Regions from separate parts of the Homo sapiens genome. Here regions 2 and 3 are each linked to region 1. The links are contacts of gene promoters, found by promoter capture Hi-C in human tissues and cell types (Jung and others, 2019). All regions are on one chromosome and are shown on one strand. The core of a region is centred on a gene start or on the middle of the fragment in contact, and the rest is flanking DNA. Distances in the headings are between cores, read along the strand shown.

Region 1 (4,593 bases), core at 666-3,165:
CTGTCCTGCTGAAGGGACATCCTAGCTCCCTCCCTAGGACCAGCCTGCACCCACTGGCTGATCAACATTAAGCTTCAAAGGCCTCGTCTCTTTGTCTCATGGGAGGGATTGAGACCTCTCTTGCACTGCACCATAGATCAACATCTCCCTCTGCCCAGTTCTGCTTCCCTTATCTGCACAAAAATCTCAGAAGCGCCAAGTCTTTTTCCAGGGAACCCAAACCATGACAGGTGAGTACAATGATTTCCTTTTAAATCAGAAAAAGAAGGTTCATGAAGGTTGCTAATGTCCCCAAAGCCTATGGCTAAAGTGACTTTCTGGTCTGATTTCCCAGCGAGCCCTTGTTCTTTCTACTACACCAATCTACACACAGCCTTGCCTCCAATGGCTGAGACTGGATCTCTGTGAAACAGAAAGGGGAGCCCAGGCAGAGGGGAAGGGCACACAGAGGGCTTGAAGATGAGAAAAGAAGAGCAGAGGCACCCTTCAGAGGCCTGATGACAAGACTGAGGTCACAGGCTCCAGAAACAATATCAAAATGATGTGCAGGCTGCAGAAGCAAGCATTACACGGGCAGCATCTCTTTGCCTGAATCCATGTCCAGAAGCCAGGGAGCAGGGCTCCCGGGCAGAGGGGGCTCCCTTAAGCAGGGAAGAGTATTTGCAGCCAAGGACCAGAAAACAACTACAACTTACCAGCTTTCTGATGCTCCGGCCTCCATCCATTGTCCCCAGAGCTGCCAGAGGGACCTGATCACTGATCAGAATTCTTCCACGGCCCTCCTTCATTCCAGGATAAAATTCTAAATATTCTAAGGCTGCACTTTAAGGTCTGTGCAGGTTTTAGCTTCCTGCCATGTCGAGAGCTCATTTCCTACCTACAGCAAGACCCGGTCCTACTCCATTATCTGCTGTAGAATTATCTGATGTGCTAGGTCAGGACACCGGACCTTTTCAGTTTCTTTACCTTTACACAAGAAAACCCACCTGGAATTCCTGCTCCCTATCAACTCACAGTCCCAACACACTTTTCAGCCTGGCAAAACCTCCGACTTCCAGTCAATGCTCACCTCCTCTCTGAAACCTTCCTGGCTTCCTCACCGTCCTCTTCTCCATCTCGAGTCTTCCGCACTACCCTGCACTGCAATTGCTCCTCCTACTGTCCCTCTTAGCCCCAGAAGCTCCCCAAAGGCCATTCTTCATGCTGCTAGGGCTTGGCACAGTTCCTGGCACTCAGAAAAAGCCAAGTAAGTGCTGGATAGATACACGAGGTGCTGTATCCATAGCTATTCTCTGCTTCTAGCTTGGCCAGGAAACCACTCTGAAATTTCATCCTGCCCCCAGGATGACTGGAAATCGGAAATGGCATGACAAACCTGACCTCCCAAACCCAAGGCAACAGGTCATGAGGGGTCTGGGGACCTAAGGCAGGTCCTAGGAGCCGGCGCAGAGCAGAGGTCCGGCCGCTGCGGTTCCTGGTTTCCCGCAAGCTCTTCCCCGGGCCGGGCGCTGGGTGGAGGCAGTCTTAGGATCCACAGTCTTGCGCGCCCCCGGCTCCCGGGCCCGGCAGACGGCCCCCGCACGCCGATCTGTCTGTCCCAGGGACCGGCCCAGGGCCCCGGCAGCGGCAGCCTGGGGAGACACCGTGGTGCGCGGCTCCTTGCCTCCCTCCCTGCCCCTCCGTGCGCCCGCATCCCGCGGACACAGAGCCGGAGCTCCAGGGGACGCAGCCCGACGCGAGAACGCACCAGCAGCCCCCGCTCGAGGTGGGGTCTCCCGGCTGTCAGAAACCCCACAAAGTCTACTTTGCGGCGCCGCGCCGCTTACCGTGCGAGCCGCCAGGAACTCGGCGCCCGGTGGTGCCTCGGCGCGGCGCCCGCCAGTCGATCCGCTCCGGGTCCCGGGAGCTCAGCCTCTGCCCCTCAACGCGCGCGAGCGCCCCCGCCCGGCGGCCCGGCCTCCCCGCGCCGCGGCGCCCCATTGGCTCGGGCAACGAGGCCCCCGGACGGCCCCGCCCACCCGCGCCCACTCCCTCGCCCACGCCTCTCCCCAACGCCTTGCTGGGTTCACCTCTCCAGGCAGGGAAAGTTGCTTCTAGACTCTGAGCTCTCACCGGACTCAGGAGCCCAGTTAGCTAATAATTCTGGGTCCCAGGAGTGTCTAGACGCCCCTCGGGGAGTGCGAAGAATGCAGTGTCCTTGGAATCCACCTTTGGGAAAGTCAGCTGACCTCCCGGACCTCAGGTGGCACCTCAGAGAAACCAGGGCCCCTTGTCAGGAAATGTCCCAGGTTGTGGGCTAGGCCCTAGGGCCAGGATGCAACAGGGAACAAGACAAAGTCTATCGTCCTCGTGGACTTTGCATGGGGTGGAGGTGGGGGTAGGTTATATACAACAAACGAAAAAAACAAGAGAATGTCGGCTGGGTGCCTGTGGCTCACGCCTGTAATCCCAGCACTTTGGGAGGCCGAGGCAGGTGAATCACGAGGTCGGGAGTTCAAGACCAGCCTGGCCAAGATGATAAAACCCCGTCTCTACTAAAAATACAAAAATTAGCTGGGCATGGTGGCCCTCACCTGTAGTCCTAGCTACTCGGGAGGCTGAGGCAGAATTGCTTGGACCCGGGAGGTGGAAGTTACAGTAAGCCGAGTTAGAGCCACTGCACTCCAGCCTGGGCAACAGAGCTAGATGCCGTCTCCAAAAAAAAGAAAAGAAAAAGAAAGGGGTCTAGGACTGCTATACCTAGGGTGGTCTCCGGGCCGCTTGTGATATTGGATACTTGGAGGACAAAAACGATTCCAGGGCTGAAGCAAGAGCATTGCTGACAGAGGGGTCGGCCGATGCATGGTTCTGAAGCTGGAACTGGCCCCCAGGGTGGCTGAGTGAGGTGAGCAAGGGGAGAGTGGGTTACAGCCAGAGAGGTAGACTAGTGTGGAATCACCATCACCCAGAACCTTGTAGGCCACCGTGAGGGTCAGGGCTTTGTCATATCAATCTGGAGGGAACAATTCAGGCAAGAGATTATGGTGATGAAGACCAGGGTGGTGACAGCAAGATACGGAAAAGGTGGACCTCCTGCAATGTGTGTCAAAAGTAGCACAGGAAGGCTTGATGATGGATTAGGCTGGATTTAGGGGATGCTATGGTTTAAATATGTTCCCCAAAGTTCATATCTTGGAAACTTAATCCCCAATGCAACAGTGTTGAGAGGTGGGACCTTTAAGAGGTGATTCCATTAATGCCAGGAGTGGCCCTCTCCCCACCCCTCTGCTGCTCTCTTGTTCTGCCTTGTGCCATGGGGTGACTCAGCATGAAGGCCCTTACCAGATGCAGCCCCTCAATCTTGGACTTCCCAGCCTCCAGAGCCATGAGCTAAATAAATTGTTGTTCCTTATAAATTACCCAGTCTGTGATATTCTGTTATATTGGCACAAAATAGACTATGACAGGGGTTGACGTAAAGGGATGAAAGAAGAAAATCTCCTAGGTGTTTAGCTTGAGCCACTGTGGAGTAATGGTACTATTTCCAAGATCGGGAAGGTTCTTACCCAGCATCTTCCACTTACTGCATGAGCGTTAGTACATGATCTCAGTAACTAAGAGGGAGTGACTCTAACCTCAGTAACTAAGAGGGCATAAGACTAGCTGAAGGATCACAAACTTTAATACCGACGTGGCCGGGTAGTCATGTACTAAGTGAGGTTGGCAGGGTATAATAGAAAGGAGGGATGGGGCTTGTGACAGACTGAGGTATGCACACCTGCCTAAGGTGACAGTCACTGCTCAGCTCCAACTGATTTTTGCCATATGTGAATGGAGACCCACCCAGAGTTGCCAGATGTTCTGTTTTTTGTTTGTTTGTTTTTTATCGAGACTGAGTCCTGCTCTGTCACCCAGGCTAGAGTGCAGTGGTGCGATCTCAGCTCACCGCAACCTCCGCCTCCCTGGTTCAAGCAATTCTCCTGCCTCCCAAGCAGCTGGAATTACAGGCGCCCACCACCACGTCTGGCTAATTTGTGTATTTTTAGTAGAGACAGGGTTTCACCATGTTGGCCAGACTGGTCTCGAACTTCTAACCTCGTGATCTGCCCACCTTGGCCTCCCAAAGTGCTGGGATTATAGGCGTGAGCCACCACACCAGACCCTGATTTTTATTAAGAGGCCAGAAATTCAGATTATGTTAAATCTCTGGTTTTTTTAAATGCTGGTAATTAACTACAACTTTTTTTTTTTTTTTTTCTGAGACGGAGTCTCGCTCTGTCGCCCAGGCTGGATTGCAGTGGATTGTCGAGATTGCAGTGGTGCAATCTCGGCTCACTGCAAGCTCTGCCTTCCGGGTTCACGCCATTCTCCTTCCTCAGCCTCCCAGGTAGCTGGGACTACAGGCGCCCGCCACCACGTCCAGCTAATTTTTTGTATTTTTAGTACAGATGGGGTTTCACCGCGTTAGCCAAGAGGGTCTCGATCTCCTGACCTCATGATCCGCCCGCCTTGGCCTCCCAAAGTGCTGGGATTGCAGGCGTGAGCCACTGCACCCAGCCAATTAACTAAAACTTTTTAAAAGACTGTATTGGCCAAGACTGTTGGACAAGATCA
Region 2 (4,593 bases), core at 1,013-3,512, 650 kb before region 1:
ATTATTTGTCTATTTTATTCATATTCTCCCATGACTGTACAGTGAGATTTCTCAAAAGCTATATGACATAACATCTTTGTTCTAATGGATGAGACATGTACTTATATATTCTTGTCTTTAAAAAATGTGTTTTAATTTCTAATAAGGTAAACATTGATAAGAGTCTGAGATTAATCCTCAATAATTATTACTAAAGTGGTCCCGAGTGCAAAAAGTTTGAGGACTGCTGGTCTATATGATTTCAATGCTTTGAAATTTGATGCCTGCTTTACCGCTCAGCATGTGGTCAGTTTTGGTAAACTGTGTGCATTTGAAAAAAAATGTATACTCTGCACTGCTTGGCTGTACTACAATGCAAGTGCACATACACACACACAACCACACATGTATATTAGAGGTCACGTGTCAAGTTTGTTATTGGATCATTCAAATCATGTATATTCTTACTGACTGAAATTTGCAGTCACCTCCAAACAGCCCTACATGTAGGGCTCACATATCTGGAACTTTTTCTTCTTTTCCTCTAGATCTTGACTTCGCAAATTCTTACTGCCTTAGCAGATTTTCTGTGCCTTCAAACAGATTTAAGAAAAAATTTTTTACCCAGCCTTTCTAATTATTTTCAGCAGGGGATTGGTCTGAAACAACCTAGTCCACCACTGCTAGAAACAGAACTCTCAAGATGTCATTTAAACTTCATTTCTAAATTCACACTCTTTAACAGCAAAGATATTACTTCTGATATAGAATGTTTATTGAAAGCACCCCATAACCACAGCAGAAGGCGTATGCAACCTTCTGTATATTCAATGTTATCATTGAATAACAATGATAGTATTACTGAATATGTTCTACCTGCTTAGCACTGTTCTAAATATTTTACACAGCTGAACTCATCTAAGCTACTAATACTGTGTGGTCATTAACATTATTAGACGTGATCTGTCCACGAGGTAACTGATTTACAAAGATAAAAAAAAATTGCCAGTTTGTTTTGTAGCCAAAGTCTGAATACCATGATGTTTGGTAGGAGCCTCCCAAAATTTTCAATAAAAATATGCTTTGCTTGAAGTTGTAATAGCCTCTCAGTATCCACAAGCAATACTTCCAGTAAATATCAAAGAAAAATGACAGAACATGATGAGACTGAGTCATGCACATGGAGAGAAGTGCTCTGTTTCACAAAGGCTATGGTCCATAGAGAGAAGCTACACACATTTTTTTTTGAGATGGGGTCTTGCTCTGTCACCAGGCTGGAGTACAGTGGCACGAACTCGGCTCACTGCAACCTCCGCCTCCCGGGTTCAAGTGATTCTCCTGCCTCAGCCTCCCAAGTAGCTGGGAGTACAGGTGCGCGTCACCACCCCCAGCTAATTTTTCTATTTTTAATAGAGACACGGTTTCACCATGTTGGCCAAGATGGTTTTGATCTCTTGACCTCATGATCCACCCGCCTCGGCCTCCCAAAGTGCTGGGATTACAGACGTGAGCCACCGTGCCCGGCCAATGCTACACACTTAACAGCAGATGTCCACAGTGATCTTACCTGGGGATACTACTGCTTCAGGGTCATTCATATCAAAGGCTGCCATGTTCCCAATAGCAAACCCATATCCTGAATGGACATCAGGAAGCCCAATAGATCGCTGAAAAAGAATTAGAAAATGAAATACAAGTGTCTTGACCTGCTACCCTGGATGCCCTGATGGACCTGACACTGATTCTCAAACAGGTTGCAGGCTGAAGCTTTCCCTAAATCAAGACTGTGTTTTCACAAAATCTTCTATATGCATGGAAATAGTAAGAACTCCTAATCACAAAGCTAAATACAGTGAGAAAAAAACTTTTTTATAAGATCTGAATGTTAATTAAGGAAATACAAAACAGAAAAGCCTCAAAATAACATGATATAGGAGTAACACATACTAAGTTTAATGTACTATTACATTTTAAAAATAATCTTAAGACACTGACAAACTTTGGTTTGTCAGGTTAAGAAGAGGAAAATAACTGATTTATATAGGTCATTAGTTTAAGTAATCACAGCCAAATGTAATCCATTTGATGGTATAAATACTGTAGACTTCCTACATGTGGAGCCTAGAAAAGGACCCTGACCCAGGAAGAATGCAGGTCAAACACAGGATATATGGAGATACCCAGACACTAACAACTTCCTTATATACACAAGCCATACCATTTCATTCCCTCTACCAAGTGCCCAACATGGTAACTGGCATAAAGAAGACCTCAAAAATGTCTGCCGAATAGATCCATTTTCAACATCTACCTCTGATAGAATATGAATGTTAAACTGTGGTGGGGGCTATGCTGTCCTCTCTTCCTCCCCCTCAGTGCTAACCCTTAAACTTCTTGCCATTTCTTCTTCAATGATCCTCTGCATAGGAAGTGAAACTTACAACCAAGCGAAACTTACAATGAAACTTACATTGAAACAGTGAAGTGAAACTTACAATGAAACTTACAATGGTGGTGCACTGATCCAGGAATAATGTTACCATGATAAGAAACAAAACACAAAAACTACTTCGAAGGTTCTTAACACTTACAGATTCTAGCCAAATGCATTCAGAAACTGAAATACCATCCAGATTCAATTATTTCTTTAGGTCCATGGTTATTTCCTTTTATTTTTTATTTTTAGGGACAGGGTCTCACTCTGCCATCCACGCTAAAAGTGCAGTGGCGTGATCATGGCTCAGTGCAGTGTGGAACTCTGGGCTCAAGCAATCCTCCCACTTAGCATTCTAAGTAGCTGGGACAACAAGCATGTGACATCACACCTGACTAATTTTTTTGGTATAGACAGGGTCTTGCCATGTTGCCCAGACTAGTCTTGAATTCCTGGGCTCATGCAATCCTTCCATCTTGGTCTCTCAAAGTGTTGCGGGTGGCATGAGCCACTGAGCCTGGCTTCATGGTTATGTCTGGCTGTCCAAAGGTCATTGTCTAAATGACACCACTATCAGGCATGGCCATTCATCCATTCAATGGACTTTAAGAAATATAAATGATTAAAGTTCTGAACTCTGACTCACATGAACAATTCCAGGCAGGGCTGCCACATTGCCAATCTGTTTCATGGCTGGCAGGAAGCCACCAACACCTGAAGACAAAAATTGGGTATTAGAAAAGACAACACACTTGATTTTTAGCATGAATTATATTCATGTTTTTAGACTGTATAACGTGAAGAGGTAGTCATTAGGGCTACTAAGACAACAAAGCCTAGAAGGATGTTTGAGATGCAAGATGGAAGGGAGCTCCTTTTAGAGTCACTGTAAGTATTGCATGAGATAATCTCTGCAAAGCACCTAGTAACATGCCTGGAATATAGTAAGTGCAAAACAAATGGTAGGTCACTTGCTATTATTGTTCAAGGTTAGCTGAGAAACAAGTTCTACCCAGCTTCAAATTCCAGATGGAGCTTCAAATCCGTTCTATAACGCCAACTGGCTGACAATGTGATCACAAATAAGTAAGTGCTTTTGGTCTTACTTTTAAGTTGTAATCACTCCTTGACAATATTTCAGAATTATAATTATTTGAGTTGCCACTTTTTCAGGCCACAGGGAAGGCACTACCGTACTAACACAAGTGAAACTCTAATGTACTTACCACCACCTCGACAGGCATTCCTTAATTCCTCAAACATCAATTTCTCCAGAGCATCATTCACATAGAAAACACCTTCAACCTAGTACCAAGGAAAGTGAAAAGCAATGTCTGAGTACATGCGCGGCAAGTGTAGGCACTGGACAGAATGCACTGTATGCAATATTTACTGTGCTTTACTCTTTACCAAACACTTTCACGTTACCTTAAGCACACAGAAAACTTCCTATCAAAGACTACGAGCTGCTCCCATCGGAAAATATACCTTAAGAAAAATTCTGCAATGTTCACAAATTGTTTTGTTTATTCTCATACCCTCAAAACCACATTTAAGAATTCAACAGATTCAGCATCTTTTTGTGATAAAGAAAAATCTTCCAACTATACTCTCACAAAGCCCAAAGGTCTTAATCCTCAAGCTTCAAAAATATCAATGGTTTTTTGAAAATTAAAAAAAAAAACCAAATGAATCAAAAAGTCCAATTCTAAACATAAAACGTAGTCATCTAACCTAGTATGTTTATTCTGTGTTTAAGCCAATAGCAAATTACATTTTATTGTGCTCTAGTGGTGACTTACAAATCTCTAGTTAGGTAAATAGTGAGAAGAAAAATTTAACATGCAGCTACGTAGTTGTGTGCTCAGTTCTGAAAGCTATATAATTTTTTAAAAAATCTATAATTTTAAAGCTTGACAATAGAGGCAGCACACAGAAGGCAATGGACGACATACTTATGTAACACTAAAGAGCAGAACATTTTTATCACAGGTCAAATATTGTGAAAGAGCTGTCCAGTAATGGAGAACCAAAGATTTAACACTTAATCAATTGAATGTAGTTTTTATCAGAAAGATGACTTCATCACCATTGCATAAATAACAATTTAATACCCACTGATGGAAAATATTTCCAGTATAATTTCTTAAGGGTCACATTTATTAATTCACCAAACATTA
Region 3 (4,593 bases), core at 1,138-3,637, 510 kb before region 1:
GGACTCCGAAGGCACAGCTTTTCCTTGAACCATCTCAGGGGTCTGTAAGTAGGTGCCTGCCTGTTCTACCACAACGGACCTAAACAGCAACAGGAGAGAGGCTGGAAAAGCCATCTCTCTTCTTGGCTCTCTGAGTGATGACTCCAGGTCTCAATTTGCAGAGAAAATAAAGGTGACCAGGCAAGAGTTCCCTATTTTCCAGCCCTTTTCAAACTCAGCTACCCCACTTCTTCCTCCCAGCTGCAGTGGCGGTGGTGTGCCTCCTTCCTTTGTTCTGGGCCTTCTAAGCCCTTGGTTTTAGCTGGGTACCTGGCCTCCTCAGCCAGAGATTACTTTGCTCCAGTCTGTCGTGCGGGTAGATGTGCCTGAGTCTCCAAGCTCTGGCCGGTGAAACCTGGGTAGCCGTGATATTAGCAACCTCTGGGTGGTGCCCTGAAGATGAAAATAATCTTCCCCGTCCTTTTTCCTTCTTTGCTCTGGCAGGGAATGTGAACATGATGGTATGAGCAGCAGCCTCCATCTTGGGCCATGAGATGGAAGCTGCATGTTGAGGATGGCTGAGTAGAAAGATGGAAGGACCTGGGTCACTAGCACTGTGAAGCTCCCTTTCTGAGACAGGGTCTCAATATGTTACTCAAGCTGAGTGCTGTGGCATGATCATGGCTCACTGCAGCCTTGACTTCCTGAGCTCAAGCAATTCTCCTGCCTCAGCCGGCCGAGTAGCCGGGACTACAGGCGTGCACCACCATGCCCGGCTAGTTTTTGATTATTTGTAGAGACAGGGCCTCACTATGTTGACCAGGCTGGTCTCAAACTCCTTGGTTCAAGCGATCTTTCCGCCTCGGCCTTCCAAAGTGCTGGGATTACACACTCGAGCCACTGCGCCTGGCCCCTATTATGTGGGTCTTTGTTAAAGCAGCCAAATGACATTTCTGCTCATTATTTTTACTCTCTTGCTTTTCATTGATTCTTTATTCTTTGGATTAACGTGATCAAGGATCCACCATTCTCCTCAACATGTTCCTGCTTTTCAGAACCTCAGTTACGCACCACTGTCTATCTCTACATCTTCATTCCCCACTTGCCCCTCAACCCACTTTCTTTAGGTTTTACTCCCTACCATTCTCCTGAGACTGATTTGGCCAAGGTCCCTTTTAGTCCACTCTTTGGCAAATCCCATAGAATGCCTCTGGTCCTTGCCCTGCGTTGACCCTCTGTAGCACCTGAAATTAGTGAACTTTGGGAAATATGATTTCTGTACCACTGTTTTCCCAGTTCTCACCCTTCTTTCTGGCAACTTCTTCACAGTCTATGTTGCCACCTCTTCTTCCAATGCCCCTTTGATTATCCTGGGGTTTCATCTCAGCCAGTATTCAGGGTCAGGTGGAGAGAATCGGAATTGCCAAAATGAAAGAATCGGGTGAGCGTTTGCAGGGACGGCTTGTTTAACTCACATTTCTGTCCTTGGTGGCCTTGGAAAGAACCAGAATTTCTTTGGCACCTTGGTTTCCTAGACAGCCCTGAGCACAGAGTGGGCTACCTCGGAAGTGTCTAGCTGTCCACAGCATCATTTTCCTGCTTTACAGTCATGATGCACCCTGATATGGGGGGCATGTGTCCATCCAGGGTACACTTTACACTCTCTCCTCTCCCTGGCATCTTCATACCGCTGTGTGGCCACATTTTGGCCAACAAGATGTGAGCGGAAGAGGTGTATGAACTTCCAGGCTGTGCCGTTAAAGGGCAGGGGAGGGCTTTGTACTCCTCGCTTCTCTCCCCTTGCTGGCTGGAGTGTGGACCATCTTTGACAGTGTAGCTGAGGGCAACACACCAGGCATGGATGATCAGTAAGATGGAAGAAGTCCATGGTCATGAAACCATGGTAGTTCCAGGCCAGCCCTGGGCTGCTTTTGTGCAGAGCAGAGAAAGAAAGTCCTAGTTTGTTTATGCCTTTGTAAGTCTTTGTTATGGCAGCTGAAATTTATCCCAATTATTATACAAGCCCTAAGTAAATTTTTGTGGAATACATCATGCATTCTTTCACAGAGTAGACAAAGAGAGCAAAGGGAGAAAGCACAGACATAGTGGTTTAATGCAGGAGTGGGCAGGCGCCCTCTGGGAACCCTTCTCTTCTGTCTTCGTTTGAGTGGTTGTGCACTGGGGTCCCATTCTGTTGTCACCAACAGTGAGCATGGAACCCAGGTCTCTCTCTCTCTCTCTCTTTTTTTTTGAGACAGTCTCACTTACTCTGTTGCCCAGGCTGGAGTGCAATGGTGCAATCTTGGCTCACTACAACCTCTGCCTCCTGGATTCAAGCGATTCTCTTGCTTCAGCCTCTCAAGTAGCTGGGACTACAGGTGCGTGCCACCATGGCTGGCTAATTTTTGTATTTTTAGTAGAGACGTGGTTTCACCATATTGGCCAGGCTGGTCTTGAACTCCTGACCTCAAGTGATCCACCCACCTCAGCCTCCTAAAATGTTGGGATTACAGGCGTGAGCCCGGGTATCTTATACACAGGCATTTCAAAGCTTCAGGAGAGGCCCTGGCCAAATGTTCCTTTTTATTTTATTTTCTATTTCTATTTATTTATTTTTTTAAAGAGACAGGGTCTCACTCTGTCACCCAGGCTGGAGTGCAGTTGTGCAATCATGACTCACTGCAGCCTTGAACTTCTGGGCTCAAGCATTCCTCCCACCTCTGCCACTTGAGTAGTTGGGACTACAGGCGTCACCACATCCAGCTGATTTTATGTTCTTTTTCTTTACAGAGGGTCTCCCACATTGTATGACACCTGGGCAATAAAAAACGGATTCTACCCCTGGAACCACCATTTCTGTCTCCCCATTAGACTGTGAGCTTCTTGAGGACAGACGAGTGTTGTCCCCAGCTGTTGCACTGGTGCCAAGCAGATTGTACATGCTCTACACAAGTTTGCTGGATTGAATTTAAGAAGGTTGGATCAAGACCTGCTTATAATTTGGGAGGGGGGCAAGAAACTAGAAGGAAAAACAAGAGAGTTCCAAAAAAAGGCAAAGAAACTGTTTCAAGGAAACTTGTCTTTTATAAGGTGGATATTTCCATGCATTCTTGGGTAGGTGCTACGCTCTCTGAGGGTTACTGCCTGCCTCACAAGTTCTTGAGAACCGGAAGAATTCCAGGATTCTGGCGAAGAGGGGAGGTGGTCTGGAGCCTCGGTGGGTGGGTGCTGGAGGGGACTCTGGGATGGTCCTCAGGCCAGAGAGGGTAGTTGGGGTGAGAGGGCACTGGGGACACAGCCCTGAGGATGGTGAAATGGCTGCTAGCCTGGGCAGGGAGTCTTGGCACTCCGCTTTATTTACTGGCTGGAAATCCCTCCAAGGGTTCACAAAGACAAGCTGAAAACAGGAAGCCCTCAATGAGCTGTGATTCAAGATTACCCATTTGCTGCCCCAGGGGCTATGATGGGGCCACTGTGAACTCTCCAAAACAGACCCACCCACACCCTTGCCTCCCTCGCCCCTCTTCTCCCTTCTCTTATCTCCTCTCTCCTTCTCTCTCTCCTTTCTCTTGCGTCCTTGCCTTCTCACTCTCTCCTCCCTCCCTTTTCTCCCCTTTCCTCTAACACTCCTTGCCTTCTCTCTTACTCTGTTTTGTTTTTTTGTTGATGTTGAGACAGAGTCTCTCTCTGTCGCCTAAGCTGGAGCGCAGTGGCACAGTCAGGGCTCACTGCAACCTCTGCCTCCCAGGTTCAAGCAATCCTCCACCTTAGCCTCTTGAGTGGCTGGGACTACCGGCGCATGACATCACGCCTGGCTGTTTTTTCTTTGTCGTATTTTTTGTAGAAATGAAATTTCCCCATGTTGCCCAGGCTGGTCTTGAACACGTAGGTTCAGGCGATCCTCCCACCTTGGCCTCCCAAAGTGCTGGGATTACAGGCATGAGTCACCATGCCCGGCCACTCTTCCTTTTGCTTTTAATGCCATCTGTTTCCCTCTTGCACCTCTTTCCTCCTTGATTTTTCCTTGTTGCTTACTTCTTCTCTTATCTTTCTCCAGCCTCTCCCTTCCACCTCCTTCTCTGTCTCCTTCAGTTTTCCTGACCTCTTTTCAATGTTGCCATTCTTCTTCTCCTTCTCATTTCTTCTTCATTCCTTCCTCTCTGTCTTTCCTGCCTCCTTCCCCTCATGGTCTCCCCATTCAGGTTCTCACACTCTTCTCCTCTCTTGCTTTCTGAATTGCTTTACCCTCTTGTGTGCTTGTGTGCACACATGTGTGTATGTGAGTGTGCATGCATGCATGTGTGCTCTGTCCTGAGGCTGAGCAAGGAGGGAGAGTGGAAACAGAGGCAGAGAAAGTGGAGAGAGGAGTCAGGATGCAATTCCAAATCTTCTGAATGGGTTTTGGCTCAGAGGTCTCCTGTTCCAAATTACAAAATCCAACCCGGGATGGGAAAGTCATCTACATACTTAGTAGACTGTCTGCTATTTGCTTGAATATCTCCAATAGCAGGGAGCTTACTATCAGGCAGGGCAGCTCAATCCCTTTTAGGAAACCTCTAACCTGTTCTGGTGTATATCACACCAGGAATGAATGAATGGCCCTCGTTATTCTAT

The links. Contacts are between HindIII fragments. The study calls those that stand out against the background at their distance.
Region 2: a fragment that was not itself captured here is called in contact with the fragment with the promoter of SYN3 in region 1 in 2 of the 25 tissues and cell types used here (dorsolateral prefrontal cortex and mesendoderm cells).
Region 3: a fragment that was not itself captured here is called in contact with the fragment with the promoter of SYN3 in region 1 in 1 of the 25 tissues and cell types used here (mesendoderm cells).

What each region holds. Positions count from the first base shown.
Region 1 is chr22:33,056,466-33,061,058 of GRCh38, forward strand. SYN3 (synapsin III) reads right to left here and starts at 1,916. Exons shown (of 14, transcript NM_003490.4): 1 at 1,827-1,916. The HindIII fragment of the contact is 13,516 bases long and covers 1-4,593 here.
Region 2 is chr22:32,405,116-32,409,708 of GRCh38, forward strand. It overlaps RTCB (RNA 2',3'-cyclic phosphate and 5'-OH ligase), which reads right to left. Exons shown (of 12, transcript NM_014306.5): 2 at 3,640-3,718; 3 at 3,060-3,127; 4 at 1,547-1,646. Among named protein-coding and RNA genes, the nearest start is that of RTCB, 4.8 kb to the right of the region's middle. The HindIII fragment of the contact is 5,840 bases long and covers 1-4,593 here.
Region 3 is chr22:32,543,347-32,547,939 of GRCh38, forward strand. All of the region lies in intron 7 of SYN3 (synapsin III), which reads right to left. LOC124905103 (a long non-coding RNA gene) reads left to right here. Exons shown (of 3, transcript XR_007068067.1): 3 at 2,770-4,593. Among named protein-coding and RNA genes, the nearest start is that of SYN3-AS1, 29 kb to the right of the region's middle. The HindIII fragment of the contact is 3,664 bases long and covers 556-4,219 here.